Regions from separate parts of the Homo sapiens genome. Here regions 2 and 3 are each linked to region 1. The links are contacts of gene promoters, found by promoter capture Hi-C in human tissues and cell types (Jung and others, 2019). All regions are on one chromosome and are shown on one strand. Each heading gives the region's core, a stretch centred on a gene start or on the middle of the fragment in contact. The rest is flanking DNA. Distances are from core to core; before and after follow the strand shown.

The links. Contacts are between HindIII fragments. The study calls those that stand out against the background at their distance.
Region 2: a contact is called between a fragment that was not itself captured here and the fragment with the promoter of ARMCX2 in region 1, in 2 of the 25 tissues and cell types used here (dorsolateral prefrontal cortex and hippocampus).
Region 3: a contact is called between the fragment with the promoter of ARMCX6 here and the fragment with the promoter of ARMCX2 in region 1, in 1 of the 25 tissues and cell types used here (hippocampus).

What each region holds. Positions count from the first base shown.
Region 1 is chrX:101,658,267-101,661,572 of GRCh38, forward strand. It overlaps ARMCX2 (armadillo repeat containing X-linked 2), which reads right to left and starts at 1,584. Exons shown (of 6, transcript NM_177949.4): 1 at 1,492-1,584; 2 at 1,153-1,235; 3 at 810-882; 4 at 195-259. The HindIII fragment of the contact is 6,606 bases long and covers 1-2,486 here.
Region 2 is chrX:101,699,207-101,702,512 of GRCh38, forward strand. No RefSeq gene overlaps it. Among named protein-coding and RNA genes, the nearest start is that of ARMCX2, 41 kb to the left of the region's middle. The HindIII fragment of the contact is 4,608 bases long and covers 1-3,306 here.
Region 3 is chrX:101,616,292-101,619,597 of GRCh38, forward strand. ARMCX6 (armadillo repeat containing X-linked 6) reads right to left here and starts at 1,709. Exons shown (of 3, transcript NM_019007.4): 1 at 1,594-1,709; 2 at 1,212-1,293; 3 at 1-475. The coding sequence starts at 329. The HindIII fragment of the contact is 6,377 bases long and covers 1-2,905 here.

The sequences.
Region 1 (3,306 bases), core at 334-2,833:
TCTCCTCCCCCAAATATTAACTAAGGCAGATGCCACGCCCCTTTCTCTGCACCAAAAAGAAAGGGCCTGGGGCAAGGGTGTCTTTGAAATTAAAAGAGAGAAGATGCAGGAGGAGCCTCTGGTCCCATACTCTACTCTTGTCTCTGCCACACCCACACCAGGGGGCCCCAGACAATTCCAACCCCAGCACTGACCCTCCAAAGATTCAAGGCTGTTTCTCCTTACTTCAGTTCAGTTAGAGCTTCATCCTAAGGACAGACTGAAGAGCAGAAATATAGACTGTCGACGTTAGACAATGAAAGCCTGGTGGATGGATCAGCATCCAGGACAAGGGTCTCAGTAACTGCCTTTTCGTGTTTGCACATCAGAATGTCAAATGATTCTACCTCTCAATTCCTTCAACTCTTCTCACCCCACCCCTCCCACCTCAATCCTCCTCCTGCGCAGGCTCCCCAGGCACTCAATCCCTCCTTCCGCTTTGCCCCGCCCCCGTCCGCCATTTCTCCAGGACACACCGCCACACCCCTTCTCCTGCAACGAAGCGGGAGGGGAGCGGGGCGAGGGTGCAGCAAAAGCTGGATGGGACGCGGTATGGGGGACTCCTGCCAAACAATTCAGTGTTCCCCTCCCAGGATCACCCATCTTTCGCTCCCCAGCCCCTAGGCCTAGCGTTAGCCTGCAGAAGAGGGGCCTCAACGTCTGCCTTTTCGGGTTCAGGGTCGAGATTTTCCACGATTTCTCTGCTATGGGCTCTACCTCCCACTTCCCACAAATCCCCCCAACAACCGCCATTTCTCCCGCCTGCATACCCGAATTCCTTTTCCAGGACTGAAAAGACGGGGGGTGAACGGCTGTGTGGGCCGGAGGTGTCTGGAAAGCAGTCTGCGAGTTAACAAGGCGGTTTAATACCAGATTCTCTCAGGGTCCGCCCCCTCCCCCCCACCTCCCGTGAAGCCCAGACAGCGCCAAACCCGCCACCTCTCCAACAGCAGCTGGTACACCCATTTCCCAGCACTCCCAAATCACAGAGGGTCGGCTGGGGGATGGGAGGGTGCCGGGGCGGTGGTGGGGAAAGTCAGGGTGGGAGTGTGCCGCCCAGATTGTTACCAAATTGCATGCCCCACCCCCGCCTCCTGGTTACCCTTTCCCAACCTCCCTGCTGGCCTTCTATGCGCTGCCACGTTTATTTCTCTTCCCTCCTCCTCTCAAAACAGGACGGAATGTGGGGTGCGGGCCTGAATATTATAAACAAAACCAAAAAACACTGGCTGGAAAGGAAGTAAGCGGATTCTTCGTAAAGTCTATCAAAAGTCTTTTCGTTTCCCCCTCCCCCTTTCCCCACCGCCCACCAAAATGAGCCGCGTTTGAGCACCTCAGGTCTGGAAAGCCGGCCAGGAGTGGGGGAGACCGAGGCACCCGCGGCCTCCGACTCCCGCATCCCTAGATTACCCCTATTCAGGGGTCCCAGACTGTGCCCACCCTCACACCCACCTGCCCGAATCTGGGGGAATTTTCTCCTCCTCCTCCTCGCCTGGGTTAAACGCACGGCAGCGAGCTGCGCAATAGAGTTGGTACCCAGAGGAGGACGGAGAACGACGGTCAGGGCTTTAAGTACCTTTGCCCACGTCAGCTCCTGGTCACGTGAGGGCTGCATCGCCAGTAAGCTTGGGTCCCCAATTTCCACTCCCACCAAGAGTACGAGCCCCCTCCTTTACTTCCATTCCCATCTCACCCCACCACATCAGGTCCTGTCACTCATTTTTTTGTCTTTGTAGTCCTGGAGGCCTAAAGTAGCCCCTTCTCCCTGCTTTCACAATTTGCCTTTCTCTGGTTACCTGGGAGGGGCTGCATCTTCTCGGAGGGCTACTGAAAATTTTTACTTTTTTGTTGGGGAATTGTTTCATCCTTTCCTGGGCTACTGGACACTCTTCCATCTCTCCACCTCTAGTTCCTCAGCCCCTAGTCCCCAGGATTTTCCTTGCAGTTGACTCCCTGTTCCAGTATAGTTAAGGGGCAGAGTGTCAGAAAGGAGACAAGGAGTGGGAGTGGGGTCTGTACTTCTCAAATACTTCTGTTTTGTTTTCAAAACTATCATCATGCTTTATTTTTATAGTAAGAAAATTCAGTAAAACAAGAATTCAATGTGGGAAGTAGCAACAAAAAAAGGGTGGGCATGTTTTGTAAAGAAAAAAGGTTTCCTGCGTCCATTGGAAAGCACCATTAATTTTGGTTAATTTTTACCGAATAGAACATGAATTCTTTTGGTCACATAGGAAATAGTTTTTAAAATATGCTAAGGTATTTGAACATCTAAAATGGAATATTTCTCAATAAGATAAGCATATTTCCATGTGATCTGTAAATTGATCCACAGAGAGATGTTCAGTTCTTCAATCTTGTTTATTTTGGACAAATAATACGCTACTTTTTTCTCCTTCTGGGACAGCTTTTAAGTTGCATAAATAAATGATCCTGTCTTGTCCTGTTAGAGAAACACATTTATTTAATATTCCCAAACCATTGCTGACTGCTGTGTGTGAACCTCCTGTAATTTGATGGCTGTAACCATGACAGTTTTAAACACCTGTCTTCGGATTAGGTTCCAGTTAATGATTCAACTCTGGGCAAAAGGAAGAGCTGTGAGGCCAAGGAAACTGAGTGTGGTGGGTGCAGAGTGGTCAAATCCTCCCTGCCCTGTCAGGAGGAGGAGGGAGATGCTGTCTCTCTACTCCCTCCCATATGCCAGAGCCGCTCATCTCCTGCATTCAGGTACCTGGCTCAGTTGCTCACACCCAAAATATATCCAGACAAGTGACCAAGATGCAGACCTGGTTAAATGTCTTTGGCTCTTTCCGTCCCTCCCCCAAGTTCCCAGAGGAAACCCATTGATGCATAGAAAGGATTGCTGTTCTTACCTGACCCTGCAGCTGACGATTTGTGAAACCTGTGATTTCACAAAAAGGTTTTTGTGATCACACAAAAAGTGATTGTTGGGGGAAGTTCCCAGGCCTGACTGCTGTCTGTCCTTATTCGTGGTTACCAGTGAACCTTGCTCCAAACACTGTCTGCTACTACCACTTGGCCTAAGAGATGCATCCTCCTGGGCCTCTCACTTCTGCCTCCTTAGCTCCAGGGGACCTAGGAAGAGTCTAGCCTTCCTGCAAGGTTACTGCCTGCCAGTACACATCCACCTTGGTGCCCTCTCAACCAAATGTATGCCCAGGGAACAATCCCCACTGATGAACCCAGAGTAGGTGTTCTCACCCGGTCAACTCTGTAGACCACCTGAAATTGCATTCACCTGCA
Region 2 (3,306 bases), core at 592-3,091, 41 kb after region 1:
GAAATAGTAAGTACACTGGAAAAAAACAGAATATTGTAATAATGAAGCATCTTCTTTGACCACAATGAAATAAAACTAGAAATTAATAACAGGAAGAATTTTGGAAACTATAAAAACACATGAAAATTAAACAATATGCTTCTGAATGACCAGTGGGTCAATGGAGAAGCTAAGAAGGAAATTGAACATTTTTTTTTGAAACAAATGATAATGGCAACACAACACACCATACCTCTGGGATAGAGCAAAAGCAGTACCAAGAGGGAAGCTTATAGCTATAAGTGCCTACATCAAAAAAGAAGCAAAACTTCAAATAAACAACCTAAAGATGCGTCTTAAAGAAATAGAAAAGCAACAGCAAACCAAACCCAAAATTAGTAGAAAAAAAGAAATAATAAAGATCAGAACACAAATAAATGAATTTGAAATGAGGAAAACAACACAAAACATCAATGAAACAAAAAGTTGGTTTTTTGAAAAGTTAAAATTGACAGACCTTTAGCCAGATTAACTAAGAAAAAAATAGATAAAATCCAAATAAATAAAGTCAGAGATGAAAAAGGAGACATTACAACTGGATACTGCAGAAATTCAAAGGATCATTAGTGGCTACTATGAGCAACAATATGCCAATAAATTGGAAAATCTAGAAGAAATGGACACATTCCTAGACATACACAATCTACCAAGATTGAAAGAGAAAGAAATTCAAAACTTGAACAGACCAATTTTAACAAGTAATGAGATTGAAGTCACAATAAAAAGTCTCGTAGTAAAGAAAAGCCCAGGACCCAGTGGCTTCACAGTGAATTTCTACCAAACATTTAAAGAAGAACTAATACCAATCCTATTCAAACTGTTTCAAAAAGTAGAAAAGGAGGGAATACCTCCAAACTCATTCTATGAGGCCAGTATTATGGTGATACCAAAAGCAGAAAAAGACACATCAAAAAAAGAAAAAAAAAGAAAACTTTAGGCCAATATCTCTGATGAATACTGATGCAAAAAAATCCTCAACAAAATACTAGCAAACTAAATTTAGCAATACATTAGAAATATCATTCATTATAACCAAGTGGGATTTATCCCTGGGATGCAAGCATGGTTAAATATATGCAAATCAATCAGTGTGATACATCATATCCACAGGATGAAGGGTAAAAACCATATGTTCATTTCTATTGATGATGAAAAAGCATTTGATAAATTTCAACATCCCTTCCTGAATAAAAAAAAAAACTGGGGATAGAAGAAACATACCTCAACATAATAAAAGCCATATATAACAGACCCATAGCTAGTATCATACTGAATGGGAAAAAATTGAAAGCCTTTTCTCTGAGATCTGGAACAAGGCAAGGATGCCCACTTTCTCCACTGTTACTCAACATAGTGCAGAAAGTCCTTGCTAGGGCAATCAGAGAAGAGAAAGAAATCAAGGGCATTCAAATTGGAAATGAAATGAAATTATCCTTGTTTGCAGATGATATGATATTATATTTAGGAAAACCTAAAGGTGCCACCAAAAACTATTAGAACTGATAAATTCAGTGAAGTTGCAGGATACAAAATCAACATATGAAAATCAGTAGTATTTCTATATGCCAATAGCAAATAATCTGCAAAAGAAATAAAATTAATTCCATTTATAATAGCCACACATACAGATAAATACCTAGGAATTAACATGACTAAAGAAGTGAAAGATCTCTACAATGAAAACTATAAAACACTGATGAAAGAAATTGAAGAGAACACAAAAAAATGAAAGATATTCCATGTTCATGGATTGGAAGAATCAATATTGTTAAAATGTCCATACTACCCAAACCAATCTCCAAATTCAATGCAATTTGTATCAAAATATCAATGGTACTCTTCACAGAAATAGAAAAAAAATCCTAAAATTTATATAGAGCCACAGAAGGTCCCAAATAGTCAAAGCTTTCCTAAGCAAAAAGAACAAAACTGGAGGAATTACATTACCTGCCTTCAAACTATACTGTAGAGCTACGGTAACCAAAACAACATGGTACTGGCATTGAAAGATACACATAGACCAATGGAACAGAATAGAGAACCCAGAACAAATCCACACACCTACATTGAACTCATTTTTGACAAAAAGTGCCAAGAACATACACTGGGGGAAAAGGCAGTCTCTTCAATAAATAGTACTGGGAAAACTGGATATCCATATGCAGAAGAATGAAACTGGACCTCTGTCTCTTGCTATATACAAAATCAAATCAAAATGGATTGAAGACTTAAATCTAAGACCTCAAAATATGAAACTACTACAAGAAAACAGGGAAACTCTCCAGGACATTAGTATGGGCAAAAACGTCTTGAGTAATATCACACAAGCACTGGCAACCAAAGCAAAAATGAACAAATGGGATCATATCAAATTAAAAAGCTTCTATACACCAGAGGAACCAGCCAACAAAGTAATGAGACAAGCCACAGAATGAGAGAAAATATTTGCAAACTACCCATCTGACAAAGGATTAATAACCAGAATACATAAGGAGCTCAAACAACTCTATAGGAAAAAAATCTAATAATCTGATCAAAAAATGGGTAAAAGACTTAAATAGACACTTCTCAAAAGAAACATATGAATGGCAAACAGGCATATGAAAAGGTGCTCAATGTCAGTGATCATCAGAGAAATGCAAATCAAAACTACAATGAGATAACATCACACCTCAGTTAAATGGCTAAAAGGCTTATATACAAAAGACAGACAATAACAAATGCTGACAAGGATGTGGAGGAAAGGGAATCCTCATACACTGTTGGTGGGGATGTAAATTAGTATAACCAATAGGGAGAACAGTTTGGAGGTTCCTCAAAAATCTAAAAATAGAGCTCCCATATGATCCAGTAATCCCATTGCTGGGTACATATCCAAAAGAAAGGAAGTTAGTATATTGAAGAGATATCTGCACTCCTGTGTTTGTTGCAGCACTGTTTACAATAGCTAACATTTTGGAAGCAACCTAAGTATCCATCAACAAATGAATGGATAAAGAAAGTGTGGTACATATACACAATGGAGTACTATTCAGCCATTAAAATTAATGAGATCCTGTCATTTGCAACAACATGAGTGGAACTAGAAATCATTATGTTAAGCAAAATAAACCAGGCACAGAAAGACAAACATCATGGCCGGGCACAGTGGCTAAACCAATCATTTATTATTATTTTTTAAAATCCAAGTAAATGACGCTGGGCATGGTGGCTCATGCTTGTAATCCCAACACTTTGGGAGGCCAAGGCGGGCAGATTGCTTGAGGT
Region 3 (3,306 bases), core at 459-2,958, 42 kb before region 1:
TTATGTTCATAGGGGAATGGCCGCTGTTTTATTGGGTGTGCTCGGTTGGCCTTGCCTCCCCCTGAGGGCCTGTCCTCAGTGCCACCTGGGGCCCCAGGTTCAGTCCAATCCCCATCCTCAGTCCAGGGCCGAGCCATAGTTTCAAAATCAAACCAAATATCAGGCTCCTCCTCATCCAGCTCCTGGTCATCGTCCCACTCCTCTTCCCCCTCCTCCTCCAGCTTCTCACTGTCATCTCTTCCTATGGTCAGTTTGTAAACGCAGTAGCAGGCACCAGCCCCAATCATCAGTCCTGCCGCCATCCAACCCACTTCCCGAGCCCGGCCCATGCTCAAGTCTGTGCCAGCCTTGGGGCAGGACAGGAGAGGGCCTTGCTCCACCTGATTGAAGAGGTCTCTCAGGTCCAGGGTGAGTAAGGATGGAGGGTAGCAGTCTTCAGCTTCTTCCAGGCTCTTGTAGCTCTCTTGTGATGAATCTGTGGGTGAAACAGAGTATTAGGGCTCGGGACTATGTTTGGCTTTGTGCCTCACAGACAGGGTGGATTTCGAGTTGGTGATAAAGGCAGATTAACAGGATACAATTTCTTTGTTCTTTTCTTTTCTGTCTTCCTCTATCGACCTCAGGAGCCCCCATTTCTCTTCCTGGGTCCACAGGGAAGGGCAGGAGATGGGTCTCTGCTATGATAGCTAGGAGGGTGACAGTGTGAGTACCTCTCAGGTAGTCTCCTACACCAGACCTCCACCCCCAAAGATTAAGGGCAGTTTCTCTCATTAACCTCTACCAAAGTCAGATAAATTCCTTCGTTTTCCCTTGTCTTCTGTTGTCAGTGGTCCCTCCACGGTGATAGAGGATAGAGTCTGGCAGAAGGACAAATGCAAAGACAGGTAGGCGGCAATGGAGAAATGAAAGTGTAGTGGATGAACTGAGGACACAGGTCCCAATTTCTGTTTTTGTGAATTTTAGACACTTGAGTTTAAAATATTTCTCATACTCTACTGACTTTCCGGACGCAGGCCTCCTCCGCCCCACTTGTCGTCCGCCATTTCCCCAGCAAAGGCCGCCACACCCCTTTCCCTGCACTGAAATGGGAGTGGGTGTGGAGAAAGAAGGGGCCAGGAGAGGGCGACTCGGACCTGGCCCTCTCATATCCCAGCCCCCCTCCTCCGCCACCCCCACCCATGGTCCTGGGCTAATCCCACCTTCACACTGACCTGCAAGGTTCCAACCAAGGCAGTTTTCTCCTTCTCTCGCTGAAACTTGTGCCGAAACCTACAGGCCAACAGACCTACAAACCTGCAAACAGACAAGGGACCGAGGGGACGGAGTGCTTGGTGGACGGACCAGCACCCGGGACACTAGAACCTTTCTTTTCTCGGAGTCTCTGGAAACGCCATTCACTCCCCTCACCCCCACCCGAAACCCGCCACTTCTCTCTACTAAAATGAGCACGGGGTGGGGTGGGGGTGGGTAGCAGTATTTAGAAAGTAGGCGAGAAAGGGACCCAGCTGTGATCGGCCTGAACTCGGATCTGTGGCGTTCTTGGCCCTCTTCCACCCATACCTCCTCTCAAGCAGCGCCCACCCTCGCACCGACCTGCACGGTCCGAGCTAGTTTCCTTCTTTCTTCACACGCCTGCAGAGTAATAGGGGGCTGGTACCCAGACGGAGGCGACTAGCAGGACTTGTGCTCTAGGCGGCTCTTGGTCACGTGACGGCCACGTCACCAGTGCGCTCTGGCCCCCAATTTCCACTCCCACAAGCAGTGCGGCAGGCGCCAGCCTGCCTTGTATCTCCCCCTCAACCCCCACAGTGGGCCCTGTCACTTTTTTCCTCTGTAACAATACCAGAAACCAGAAGTGGCCCTGTCTTTCTGGTGTTTGAATTTATGTTTCTCTAATTCCAGGAAGGGGCAGCATCTTTAGGAAGGGGCAGCATCTTTTCCTGAGTCTACCCTTCATTTACACTTCTTGGGGAATTGTCTCATCCTTTCCTTGGCTCTGAAACTTCTGCAGCCCCTTTCTTAAATTTCTACACTTTTCCGTGTTCAGTCTCTACACCAACATTGGGTGAGGGGGCAGAAACGGAAGTCCAGGCAGTGGTGAGATTTTAATTAGTATTTTGATAACATTTAAGTTATATTTTGTCCTTTCTTTTTTATTGACTTGAACTACACTATTTTGTAATCGGAAAAAAACAATAAAGCTTTTCCCACTTGGAGAAGAAATAATTCAAATCTTTTTTTTTTTTTACAGATATATATATATATAACATAAGCAAGATTTCCCAGTTAATAGGAGGCCTCATTGATTTGATGAAGTTAGTTTGTATCAAGTTGAACATATTTTCTTCGGACTGCACAGGAAATAGCAGCTTTCAAACAACATATTAAAATGTAAAAACACACCCTTAGAAACAAAACCAGTTGTGCTTTCAACATGATTTATAAATTGATGGATAAATGAATCTATACCGAGAAGGTCAGTGTTCTAATTTTGACCATTTTAAGTAAGTGAACTATTGTCCCTTTCTTTCTCCTGGCTGAACTCATAGTATTAGGTGTCAGATGACTGAGATCTTCATAGAAGATTGCTGGGTGACTTTCACTCTGGCTTCAAAGGACAGATTTTATGCAGACCCCAACTTCAGATGAATCTTACATCTTCAGATGAACTTTACAGATTAGTGACTCCACAGATTAGCCTGCCTTTCATTCACAGGGCTTTATTTACAATCTATTCTGAAGTTTGTGGTGCAACCTATAAATCTTCCAGAAATTAGAGAATTTCCTGTTATCCTATTGATGAAAATGAGACTTGATAGAGGTAATTTTCTTTCCATCATGACACTGTTGGCGATCTCTCTGTTGTCTGCCATTCATGTATTTTATGCTACCCTAGCAGTGGTGAGTGTTCAGCATTTTCCAGTGGAGATGGTGGTGAGGGTCTGTGGGTGACTGGGAATCAGTGCAACACCCCTGATGTCTGTGTCATTTTTTCCCCTCACAAGTGGAAGGGCAATGCACAGGATCTCAAGCAGTTGCCAGAAAAAAAGAGGACTTTTCATTTCCTGCCTTCTATTACAACTTCATTGAGCCACCAGTACAAGCCCCTCAGAATAATCCCAAAACTCAGGGACCAAGTATGCAGAAGTTAGTCCTCATGCATCCACCTGTCCCTGCTGAGGAGTCATACTCTAAATATAGACACTCCAGGCAACCTCTTAGAACATTGAAATATGACACCCCAGAGGGAGGGGCTCCCCAGTGAGGGGCTCCTGTGTGGAGGAGGCCCTTTCAGGAGGCAAGCCA